Regions from separate parts of the Homo sapiens genome. Here regions 1 and 2 are each linked to region 3. Evidence: promoter capture Hi-C in 16 types of primary human blood cells and fetal thymus (Javierre and others, 2016). All regions are on one chromosome and are shown on one strand. Each heading gives the region's core, a stretch centred on a gene start or on the middle of the fragment in contact. The rest is flanking DNA. Distances are from core to core; before and after follow the strand shown.

What was found. The method cuts DNA at HindIII sites, captures the fragments that hold promoters and counts their contacts. A CHiCAGO score of 5 or more calls a contact.
Region 1: the fragment with the promoter of DLEU1 here is called in contact with the fragment with the promoter of INTS6-AS1 in region 3 in 1 of 17 cell types (fetal thymus); the score reaches 5.9 in fetal thymus.
Region 2: the fragment with the promoter of PHF11 here is called in contact with the fragment with the promoter of INTS6-AS1 in region 3 in 2 of 17 cell types (fetal thymus and activated CD4 T cells); the score reaches 9.3 in fetal thymus.

What each region holds. Positions count from the first base shown.
Region 1 is chr13:50,080,039-50,083,854 of GRCh38, forward strand. It overlaps DLEU1 (deleted in lymphocytic leukemia 1), which reads left to right and starts at 2,131. Exons shown (of 7, transcript NR_109974.1): 1 at 2,131-2,519; 2 at 3,104-3,156. All of the region lies in intron 1 of DLEU2 (deleted in lymphocytic leukemia 2), which reads right to left. RefSeq lists enhancers at 583-642, 2,260-3,055 and silencers at 1,275-1,569, 1,433-1,652, 2,053-2,102. The HindIII fragment of the contact is 5,734 bases long and covers 1-3,816 here.
Region 2 is chr13:49,494,649-49,498,828 of GRCh38, forward strand. It overlaps PHF11 (PHD finger protein 11), which reads left to right and starts at 1,305. Exons shown (of 10, transcript NM_001040443.3): 1 at 1,305-1,447. The coding sequence starts at 1,354. The region is part of intron 12 of SETDB2-PHF11 (SETDB2-PHF11 readthrough); the gene reads left to right. It overlaps SETDB2 (SET domain bifurcated histone lysine methyltransferase 2), which reads left to right. Exons shown (of 14, transcript NM_001160308.3): 14 at 1-355. RefSeq lists enhancers at 111-796, 1,107-1,346, 1,837-1,886 and a silencer at 1,367-1,646. The HindIII fragment of the contact is 2,314 bases long and covers 1-2,149 here.
Region 3 is chr13:51,452,049-51,456,066 of GRCh38, forward strand. INTS6-AS1 (INTS6 antisense RNA 1) reads left to right here and starts at 1,297. Exons shown (of 2, transcript NR_103812.1): 1 at 1,297-1,370; 2 at 1,955-2,668. INTS6 (integrator complex subunit 6) reads right to left here and starts at 988. Exons shown (of 18, transcript NM_012141.3): 1 at 367-988; 2 at 1-7. The coding sequence starts at 477. RefSeq lists silencers at 14-133, 144-413, 654-913, 1,144-1,343, 1,434-1,753 and 1 more and an enhancer at 974-1,023. The HindIII fragment of the contact is 2,653 bases long and covers 1,144-3,796 here.

The DNA of each region.
Region 1 (3,816 bases), core at 881-3,380, 1.4 Mb before region 3:
CATTTGAGAACCACACGAAAATCCTTTCTGAGAGGAAAAAAAACTATTAAAAACCAACTTTTTTTCTAAACTCTCGTCCTAACGTTTCGTAGCTATTTCCGTGGTTCTCTGGCTAAAAGTATATTTTTTCGTAAAGTCGAGAATTATAGTTTAGCGTTCAACATTCAAACCCCCCAGGCCCGCTTCCTTCCAGCCAATCAGGGGGTAACAAGTCCAGAGTTTAGGGAGCTCCGTTAGACACAATTTGAAAAACATCACATTGCACTCTTCTATTCTCCTCCGGGAAACATTCTAAGCGAGGGCGGGTCCCCCAGTCTTCATAGAATATAAGAAATAAATCAATCGTTACATCAATTCCACGGGGAAAAACTCTGTAGGCAGGCAGTCCTAAAGAAGCGTGTCACCGCGGTTCCCAGGAAGCGTTATTCCTCTTTGCGAACAACTGAACAGAATAGCTGCTGCAGAAAGCATCTCCGGAATATTTGCAACCCAGAGCCGTGCGCCCCACACGCAATACACCGGCAAAGGGTTAATCTAGTGGTGCCTCCAGCGCGGAAAAGAACTCAAGATCTAATACATCCTTAACGCGGGATTTTTACAAAGGCCATAGAAGTATTACCTAAAGTTAATGCCGTCACTGGCTCACATCACTCAAGAGCTGTGGAGTAAGAATTGATAGAAACCACCAGCTAAGGGGGAAAAAAAAAATCACCGAAGGGAAAGACAAATAACAACTCTCGTCCCTCCTCCTCAGCGTCAAGAAAAGGTGGGGATCGCAAAATTACCGTTAAGTTGTCCGGGTAAAGACTTTTGGGGGAGGAAAACATTAATAGTTTCACAGATTGCTTTTTTCCTTGCGACATGTTTCAAACACCGGAGAAGAAAAAAGTCTTCTAAGAAAGTGCGACTCGGAGGAAATAGCCACGAGAAGGAAATCGTTAGCTCGAAGCCCCATCTTTCATCTCACCCGTGAACACTCCTCCCCTTTGAGAAAGGACAACGCTGCGAGAGCAAATGACAAAAATCCCCAGAAAGAAGCTAAAGTCCAGCATCTTTCCTAAGAGCCCGCTACAACCTCAAAAGCCTGCCCCTGCCCCATCTTGGAAGCGCGAGCCGCGGCCAGTCCTACCTACCTAGAGACCTCACCGGGACCCAGCGCGCCGGGGGAGGGCAGCCAGGGCTTGGGAAACTCTTTCCTGGGGCACCTCACGCTTCAGCGTCAAAAGACAATATAGATAGATGGGTGCCGGGCGGTGGCGGGGGGGACTGTTGCCACGACCCACCGGAGGGACCCATGACTCCGGGTCCTGAATTTTCTGTCGACCTTAAGTTTCTTGTCACGAGATGACGGCCATCACCGGGTCGAGAAAACGGCGAGAAAAGGCGGCCCGGTTCGGAAATGGGGGAGGGGCGCGCGTCCAGTCCTCCTGTCAAGGAGCGGCCGCCTGCAGAGACCCCGCAGTGCGCCGTCCCCGGCTCCGGTCCCGGGCGGGGGGTCTTGCTGACAGATCCGCTGGGCGGCGGCTGCTCCGCCGCAGCCGGTCCGCGTCCCGCTCAAACTGCAGCTCCCCTCCCCCCACAGCCCCGTCTCTCCGCGCTCCCGCCACATTCCGCCCGCCGCCGCCCACTCGCAGACGCCCAAGTTGCCCCTAACCCTACTTCCTCGGATTTTTCGCGATTAAGTGAGAGTAGACCCCGCGCCCACTCCCTGCACCCACCACTGCCTGCGGGTCCCACCACTGCCACCTCCCGAGTCCCGCTCTGCTACTTCTTCAGGCTCTTACCGACTGCGCCAGCCTTGGCGAAGCTCCGCCGACTGCCCTTTGCTCCAAGTAATTTTTGGCGATTTTTAAAGTAATTTTTCCGGCGGAGTCATAGTGGCGCTATACTCTCGGACAGGTTATCCTGTCTCTCCCGCTAGATTGATGAGATCAGGCATCACTCGAAAATGGCGCCGAAAGCGCTGAGGCTCCTCATTCAAATTCGTTAGAGCCAACCCCGCCGCCCCAGGGAATGCCGGGAACGCGGGCTGCCTCCACAGCTGTCAATACCGCCTCTTAACCCCCCTTCTCTTGCTTTCCCGACATTTTTACGCATGCGCAAACTCCAACCCTCCCCCCTCCTCCCGCCAGGCACATGCGCAGAATCATCGTGGTGCACGGCTCTCCCTTTGCTTCTTCGGTTGCAGTCCTCTTGCTTCTTGCGCGTGCGTGTAGCGCTTTTGCAAAGCCGCGGAGGTGAAGTGAACTTAGAGGTTGTGGGGCCGAGGGGTCGTCTTATAGCTACCAGCCCACAGGCATTTAGTCTACGTTGGAGGTAAACAAATACGGGTCCTGCTTAGGAGAAAAGAAAAACGTCTTACAGCCAGTGTCTAAACTCCAAACAACGGAATGTATCAATGAGACCTTGTATATGGATACACGTGCATTTAAAACCGCCCTGCCGGCTTGTAGAGCTTTTGCCGTTCTCCAGCGCTTTACAGGGGTTATCGCACTTAAGCCTCGGAACAACTTTACCAGGTAGGAACTATTACTGTTCTCGTTTTGAAGACCAGGAAACCTAGGCTCAGAGACGTTAAGTAATTTGCCCAAGACAGCACAGGTGGCACAGAAGTGGATGAATCCACATCTGTCAGATTCAGCAGCCCTGGAGTTCTCTACCACGCTGTACGATTCAACCTGAGCCCACACAGGAGGCGTGGTCTCCTTCTTCAACGGTGTGTGTGTGTGTGCGCGCGCGCCTGCCTAGAGTTAATGATTAAGTTTGCTGAAGCCCTTCTTCCCGGTCCTAAGCTGCCTGTTGCGAAGGCGCTTTCATTGAATTCAGTTTCTCTTACCGTCTTAACTTGTTCATAAACTTTTTGAGATAGGAATGGGCAGTTTTTCTGTGTCACTTAGGATGATTTTTTTTTTTAATGGCGTGATAAGTGAACTGAATCCAGCAAAGACGAGTTTCTGTTGTGCAACACGTTGGTATACTGACAGCTACCACGTATTGACTGTGTACTGTGTGCTGGGCACTGTGCTAAATAAATGATTTACGAATTAATCGTGTTTATTGCTCACAACAGCCTTATGAAGTAGGTATTATCTTCACTTTACAGATGAGGACACCTGAGGTTCAGATTAAGAAATCTGCCCCAAAGTCTTAGAACTGGTAAGTAGAAGCACCATATCTAGGCAAACCTGTCTACCTTCAAAAAAAATGGGCACTCTGATAGGACAATTAACGATAATAAAGTTGTAATTTTTTTTTTTTTTTGAGACGGAGCCTCGCTCTGTCGCCAGGCTGGAGTGCAGTGGCGCGATCTCGGCTCACTGCAGCCTCCGCCTCCCGGGTTCAAGCAATTCTCCTGCCTCAGCCTCCCGAGTAGCTGGGACTACAGGCAAGTGCCACCACGCCCAGCTAATTTTTGTACTTTTAATAGAGACGGGGTTTCACCATGTTGGCCAGAAGGGTCTCGATCTCTTGACCTCGCGATCCGCCCGCCTCGGCCTCCCAAAGTGTTGGGATTACAGGCGTGAGCCACCGCGTGGAGCCCTATAAAGTTGTAAATATTTTAAAACCTTCATTGTGAATGTTAAATAAGAGAGTAGATATGAAAGTGCCTGAAGTACTAATAAGGAAGTGGGAGAAGGGTAGCATGGTTTGCATTATTTAAGTGTCTTGGAAAAGAAATGGATTTTAGCAATTTGAGATCAGCAAGAAGTAACGTGGCAGAGTAGTATAAATACACTACTTAATCTCTGGTACTTTTTTGCACTACTTAAGTGGGTCGACTCTGGAACCGAGCTGCCTGGGTGAATCCCAGCTCCA
Region 2 (4,180 bases), core at 55-2,554, 2.0 Mb before region 3:
AATTTAAAAATTGGCTGCTAGGGTCTGTCTGCTCACTTCCCTGTTTTGCAGACCCCACACTCTTCTGCAATTCATTTCATAGTTGTCAAGACTATACAAATTGTCCTTTTTAATGTTCTCTCTTCTGCTATCCCTAGTTGGCAGTCTTCCTCTTTACAACCTGCTGAAAGTGGAAGACCTCCAGTTTTCCTTTAATTCCTCAGCAAACCACCAACTATTATATGTCTTTTTTCCAGAACAACTTATTTTTTAACTATAATTATATGCATTTATGTTAGATTCACTGAAAACCTCATCTTGTATGGTGCTCTGTACCCTATGGGTGCTAAATAAAGGCTTGCTACTGGCAACTGGATTTAGGATCGGCTAATTCTGCGTCCTTTTAAGATATGCTTATTTAAGCCAAACTCGGTATGATAATTTTTTTTTTTTTTTTTTTTTTTTTGAGAGGGAGTCTGGCTCTGTCGCCTAGGCAGGAGTGCAGTGGCGCGATCTTGGCTCACTGCAACCCCCGCCTCCCGGGTTCAAGCGATTCTCCTGCCTCAGACTCCCGAGTAGCTGGGATTACAGGCGCCCGCCACCAAGCCCGGCTAATTTTTGTATTTTTAGTAGAGACGGGGTTTCACCATGTTGACCAGGCTGGTCTCGAACTCCTGACCTCGTGATTCGCCCACCTCGGCCTCCCAAAGTCCTGGAACTACAGGCGTGAGCCACCGCGCCCACCCGGCCAGTATGATAGTTTTTAGGAGGAACCCTCAGGAGAGTGATTGTTTCTCCCGCTGTGTTGTGGGGGGTGGAGTAGGGAAGCCTGGCGTTTGGGGTTTTTTTGTTTGTTTGTTTTTTGTGTGTGTTTGTTTGTTTGTTTGTTTTGAGACGGAGTCCCGCTCTGTAGCCCAGGCTGGAGTGTAGTGGCGCGATCTCGGCTCACTGCAAGCCCCGCCTCCCGATTCAAGCGATTCTCATGCCTCAGTGTCTGGAGTAGCTGGGATTACAGGCACCCGCCACCATGCCCAGCTAATTTTTGTATTTTTAGTAGAGACGGGGTTTCACCATGTTGGTTAGGCTGGTGTTGAACTCCTGACCTCGTGATCCGCCCTCCTCGGCCTCCCAAAGTGCTGGGATTACAGGCGTGAGCCACTGCTCCCGGCGTTTGGGTTTTTTAAGCTATTCAAATTAAGACTAGACTGGAATCTGGAGCAGTGTGTGTGACAACCCCTCTCTGCACACCCAACTTTCCCCGGGCCGGCTAGTGACTCAAAGCGACAGCCCAGATTTAAGAAAACGAAACCTAGTGCAGCTGGGGCACTTCCGGGATCTCGCTATCCGGCCGCCACCCGCAGCTGCAGCACAGTCATGGCCCAGGCGTCGCCGCCCCGGCCCGAGAGGGTGCTCGGCGCCAGCAGCCCGGAGGCCCGGCCCGCGCAGGAGGCGCTCCTCCTTCCCACCGGTGTGTACCGCGGGGGCGGGCGGGCGGGCGGGCGGGGCTGGGCAGCGACGGGCCCGGTCAAGGGGCCTGCCTTCCGGTCGTGGCCGCATGGGGGCCCGACCTGCCCCTACTCCGGGCCGGGGCCCTAGACGCCGGGGCGGCGCTGGACGAACTTGGCTCACCACTCGCGTGCCTGTTGGTGGGGGAGGGGGCCAGAGGACAGGGCGCGGCCCAGGCCAGTTCCACAGGTGGCTCTGACTGCCCATGGTTTCGCGCGAGTGGTGGGCACGCTTCGGTTTACCTCCCCCGCGGGTGACAGCCCAGTGCTTCCACCACAACCGATGTCAACTCTCCTAGCGCCCCTCCGCTCACCGGTAAACCAGGACAGTGGAGGGGCGCCCTGATGCGGTGAGGCAGGGGGCGGCCCTGAGGGAAGAGCTGGGTCTCACGTTCACGGAGGACGTGACTGGAACCCGTCTCCCCTTCTCCAGTCGTTCCAGTCCTCCCCGGCCCTCTACTTGAGTGGGTGGGTCTTCTGATGGGTTCCTGCCCTTGCGTGTGTGTATAGCTCCAAACGGTGTGCCAGGCTCAGGGCAAGGTCCTGAGCATACAAAGATGAGTTAGGCAGACCCTGCCCTAGAGACTCTACTAGGCAACTTTAATGAGGAGGTCAGAACCACAGAGGTACAGATGAGAGACTCCTGACTCCCAGTCTTCAGGGAAAGCTTTTTGAGGAGAGGATGGCTGGGCTTACCCTTTTTTTTTTTTTTTTTTTTTGAGAGGAGTTTCACTCTTGTTGCCCAGGCTGGAGTGCAAAGGCGCTATCTCGGCCCACTGCAACCTCTGCCTCCCGGGTTCAAGCGATTCTCCTGCCTCAGCCTCCCGAGTGGATGGGATTACAGGCATGTGCCACCACGCCCAGCTAATTTTGTATTTTTAGTAGAGAGGGTTTCTCCATGTTTCATGGGCTTACCTTTAAAGGGCAAGACTCAGCCAAAGGTGGAAAAGTTGAAGGGGTGTTCCCAGCAGAGAGGATGACACAAAGGCACCAAACCACAAAACGTCACACGTAAACATCATACGTGGCAACCACAAGCCAATCAGTTGGATATTTCATTCATTGGTATACATATGGACTGTAAGGTAAGTCACGGGAGATGCGCTTCCATCCTGACCTCTTCCTCAAACTCCAGACTGGTATAACCAACTTCTTCCATTTCTGAAATGATCTCAAACTGAGTATGTCCCAAAGAGAATTCTTGTTTCCTCCACTGTATTCAGGTACTCCAAACCTGCTCAACCACCAGCCCATTCCATTCGCCCAGGTGCTCCTTGCAAAAACCTTAGTGGCTCCTCAGGGCCTCTCTTTCCTCCGGACACCCCTTCTAATGCATCAGTCGGGCCAGCCAGTTCTGTGTTCAGCCTGACTGTATCTGGAGCCTGACTGCTTCTCACCACTTCCATTACTGCCACCCAAGCCTACGCCATCATGATCTTCTGTCTGGACTATTGCTTTCCTGGCTTCTATTCTAGCCTTTAATACAGGCAGGCCTGCAGAGCGGCCAAAATGCTTTTTGAAAAACAAAAAGCAAATGTGATTCTCCTACTCAAAACCCACCAATAGTCTCCCATGACTCTCAGAACAATCTATGAGCCTGGCCTGCAGTTTACCCCATGTCCTTATCTGATTTGACTCCTGCCCATCTTAATGACTCTGCTACCCTGCTACCTTGTAGGTCCTCTAAGCCACCAAAGCTGTCCCTGCCTCAGGATCTTTCCATTTGCTATTCTCTGCAAGGAAAACTCATTGCCACATTATCCCATTTTCAGTTCCCCATCATATTCAGGTGTCTGCTCATATACATCTTCCCTCAACCTTGCCTGCCCATCCTGTCTAAAAGAGCACCCCTTGCCCCTGCTCCTGTCACTCTCTACCTCCTTCTGCTCTATTCTTTCTCTATAGTACTTATCACTACCTGGAAAACAAAACAAAACTTGTTTAATGCCTGTCTCTACCACTGGCCACTGGCATGTAAATTCGTCTTACTCTCTTCTATCCTTAGTGCCTAGACTGGTTGGCCTAGTAGTAGTAGTAGGACATAGTAGGTACTCATTAAATATTAAATAATAGTAAGTCCTCATTAAATATTTGTTGAAGGAATGAATGTACTTGTATATAACACTACGGAGCTTGACTTCTGTAGGTGATGGGGAAATATGAGCAGATGTCCATTTCAGGTAGATCATTCTGACAGTAACATAGTACATTTCCGGTAGATCATTCTGACAGTAACCTAGCACATTTCTGGTAAATCATTCTGACAGTAACCTAGTACATTTCCGGTAGATCATTCTGACAGTAACCTAGTACATTTCCAGTAGATCATTCTGACAGTAACCTAGTACATTTCAGATAGATCATTCTGACTGTAACCTAGTACATTTCCGTTAGATCATTCTGACAGTGACCTGGTACATTTCAGGTAGATCATTCTGACAGTAACCTAGTACATTTCAGGTAGATCATTCTGACAGTAGCATAGTGCATTTCAGGTAGATCATTCTGACAGTAACGTAATACATTTCAGATAGATCATTCTGACAGTAATATAAAGAATGCAGTGGGATCATGACAGGGAAAATAGAGACAAGGACAAGAGATCACTGGAATAGACTAGGTGAAAGACCCTGAGGGTAAGGCAGTCCACCTTCCACACCGCTGCCAGCACTGTCTTTCTCTTAAACACACATGGG
Region 3 (4,018 bases), core at 47-2,546:
CACGGAGCTGCGGGACGGGAGGAGGAACAGGGCGGGCGACAGGGAAGCACAGAGGCGAGGTTACGAGGCGGAGAAGGGGCGCCCAGCGGCCCCGCCGCCCCCACAGTACCGCACACGCAGCGGCCACCCCTCCACGCCGTCCCCCACACACAGATCGCTCCCCACACACCGCCCGGGGCCGGAGCCCGGGCCCCGGCCGAACCCGGCTCGCAGCGCCCGCCCGCCCGCGCGGTGGGGGAGGGGGTCCCCGAGCCCGGCAGCTCCCGCAGTCAGGTCCCCGACACCCCCGCCCCGGCCGCCCTCCCCCACCCTGCCGCCCGCGGGCCGCCGGGCCGGGGTCGCCGCCCGGGCTCGGTCAGTCGGTACCTTCATGAAGGTCTCTACCGCGCCTTTGGCCGTGTCCAGGTAGGTGGTGCCCAGATGGCTGCGCTGGTTCATAGAGGCAGACGTGTCTATCAGGAACAGTAAGATGGGCATAGTGCTGGCCGGGGACACCGGGGCCCGAGGTGGTGGAGAAAGAGGAGATGGTAGAGGTGGAGGCGCCGGTGGCGGCGACCGCCGCTACGCGGGGCGGGGGAGCACGGCCCCCGGGAGGAAAACACTGTCTGGGTCTTTCCTCCGGCTGCGGGGAGTTTCTCCCCCGATAGTTGAGAGGAAACTCCCCAGACCCAGTGCTCCCCGTCGTACCCCCGCCTCCGCCTCCTCCTGCCTGCCTGCCCGCTGGGGCGGGCGCCCAGCCGTCTGTCTGTCGGTTCGTCCCCCCCGCCTCGGGGGTCCCGTCCCCGCTCCCGGCCCCTGTGTGTGTCCCAGCGGGAGACGGGCCTGGCTCCCCACCCCACCCCCGGTACAGGAGTGGGGACCTGGGAGCTGGCGAAGAGGGGAGTGGGCTGAGGGAAGATTGGCCCTGGGGCTGTTGGGAGAAGTTTCAGGGACTCCCTCCGCACCCCGGCGGTGTCACCACTTTCTCAGCCCCTCTCGCTACTGAAGCGCTTTTCTCTCTCACACTCCGGTTTTAACTCGGGCAGGGGCTGCGGAGGCTCCGCCCCTGACACGTCCCCGAGCCACGTGATACACCGCCTCGCCGTTCTACTGGTCAGGCCCTATCCTTTCATTAGCATATTTAAACAGCTCAGGGGCGGGGGAAGCTTGTAGGCCGGCTCCGGGGACAGTTATTGAGCACGCGCAGAGGCGGGGCGTCGGGTGCGCGCGAGCGGGCGGGCGGGCCGACCCGGAGGCGGGCTTCGGGAAGGGGCGGGGCCGGACTGCGGAAGGACCGCGAGGTGGGGGCGGGGGCCGCGTCCGCGCGCGCGGGGCGGCCGCGGCGGTGAGCCTGCGCGTCAGGGCCGCCGGCCTCTCCTTGGCTGTTGGAGGTGATAGGGGTCGAGGGGAGGGAAAAAGGGGCTGGCGTCAGCCGCCCCTGTGAGGTGGCCGTAGCGTGGACGAGTAAGAAGGGTTGAGTAAAGTGGACAAACACCTGGTTAGGAGAAGAGGGCAGGCCCGCAGCCGCCCTCCGGAGGAGGACTCGGGGCCTCGCGGGCGCCGGAGGAGGTTCCTGGGCCTCGGAGGGCCGCCCCGGCGCGCCGCCCCGGCGCGAGCGGGCGCGGGCGGGGGAGGGGAAGTGAGAGGTTGTTTATGACCGGGGACTAATCTCCTCCGCGAGTCCCAGCGCTCCCTCTGGGGAGTGCGGTTGAGGGGCTGTCCTCGCACGGAGCCTCGCTCGGCCTCGGGGGAGCCACGAGAGGTGGGAGTTGGACCCGCAGCGGGCCAGGAGCCCTGTCATTGGAGGACCCGCCAAAAAGGAAGCAAACCCTCTTTTTCTTTATCCAACCCCAAATAGCTAGGGCCTAGGGGGAAGACTCACATATCGATAAATGGTTTGTTGCCCGTTTTATTCTCTGGGAAATACAACTGATCTTACCAAAGAAATAACCTGTCTCTTGCCGTGTTTACTTAGAGCCATAGAATACCTGTTTCAGAGCTGAAGGGGACCTGAGCCCATGATAATCCATTACCTCGTGAGAAAGCGGAAAAACTGACTTCAGCTTGCCCAGATGGCGCAGAGAATGGGTTTCCCGTAACCCCGCCTGTGTCTTTCCTTCAGCCTCGTCCCAAATGCCGTGGGAGGGAAGGCACTCTCTGTCAAGCTGCTGTCACCTTACCTGAAGTAAGGAGTCCACGCCTGCATGTCCGAGGAAAACAGTTTTCTCAAACACATTAGTTGAAAAACTGAAGACGCTGCCTAAAATACAAGCTGAGTTAGAGACAGCCCTTGTAAGACTAGGTAGGTATTTACAGGGCCTCTCCCACTAGCTTTGTTTTTCCAGAGTTTGTTCTTTATCCGGAAATTCTTAATTTGCCTACTGATCATTTAAAGAAAGGGTTCTATTAACATTGACACAGAAGAGACACTTTGTGGCACTTTTTAAAAATCTGAGTCTCGTGACTTGGTATAACTTCTGAAACTTACTGTTAATTTATAGCAGAGCTATTTGAGTAATATGCTCTTCTATGAGTATGAACAATAGAAGAAGTGTGATTTTTAAAGTGATTTGGACTACAAAATAAGAGCATGGAATATAGGCTTTACAGCCAGTACTTGCTGAGGATGTACTGTGTATTAGGTGTGGTGCATATAAAAAATAAATAAAATGTGGTCCCTGTCTTCAAAGAGCTTATGTTTTCTAGGAAAATGCTACATATTACTAGCTACTCCAAGGCAGAAAGTTGTTAGACACCAAATCAGAAAAAATAAAAATGTATTACCTTGGGGTGATGCAGGAACATTTTCCAAGGTTTCAGCTTTGCCTTAGTGTTTCTTAAACGGATCATAGATCTGAAGATAAGAATCAGAGTTCTATGGCAAAATACGAGTTATTTTACCAGTTATAAAGATGAAATTTGTCTTTCAACTTGATCATTTGCATAATTTTATACAATTGCTCTTTAGTTCTTTATATTTGTGCTTTTCAAACTGGTCTGTGGACCCCAGCCTACTGAAAACATTCTCTAGGATCATAAGAATTTATTTTAGGAGTCTGTTCATTATTCAGTTTTAAGAAACACTGTCTTAAAGGACTGGTAGGATTTGGATATGGGTAAAGGAAGGGGAAGCTGCTAGTGAAAAGATCTTCCCGACATTGAAAATGTGAAGAAAGGAAGTTAAGACAGCATTGCTGAGGGCTTCCTGAGGAACAGTGAAGTTCAGCTAGGTTGGAGCAACAGGTGCATGTAGAATAGTACAAGATCTAGAAACACAGGTGAGATCTAGACAGTAGAGGGCCTTTATTCCAATCTATGGAGGTTTTTTTTCCCCTATAAATTGGAGATTTATTTTTCAATTGCGTTGCTAAGTAGAAGCAATGTTTGAAAGAAATCAAACTAGACTACTGAAGATTAACATGCGTTCACAATGACCTTACCTATTATTACAGTTATTCGAAATCATTTTTCAGTGGAGCCATTGTCACAGGATCCTTGGAGTGTCACTTTTCCAGCTGGAAAAATGGCACCTCTGCCCGAATTTTGGTCGGGCTCATTCTGCCCACCAGTCCCAGCAGGCTGCACTCTGCTCATACTACGGCCTGGATCCCACACCTGCCAAGTGCAAGCCAGGTGCGGAGCAGCGAGGGGTGTGTGAGCGAGCAAGCATGGGGTCCGGCCACTGTATACAGCCCGGCATGCCAGCTGCAGGAGGGCGGGCAGCTCTAGGGGCTGGCCCCTTGCAAGGCTGTGGCTGGTCCAGGTGTACTGCAAGCAGCTTCCACAGCTGGCACCAGGGAATGCAGTGGCACCTGGAAGCTTGGAGATGCCAGGAGCTGCAGAGCCCCAAAGAGGTTGTCACAGGGAGCTCCTAGGTCTAGGCTTCCTAAAGGGCCACAGCTCTTCTCTCCTCTCTTCCCCCTTCTCTTTCCTTTCTTCTTCTCTTCTTCTCTCTTCTCTTGTTGTGTTGCCCACAACATGGCAAGCAAGGGGCATATTTCAGCCCGTTTGTGTTACAGCTCTTTCAGCCATGCCATTT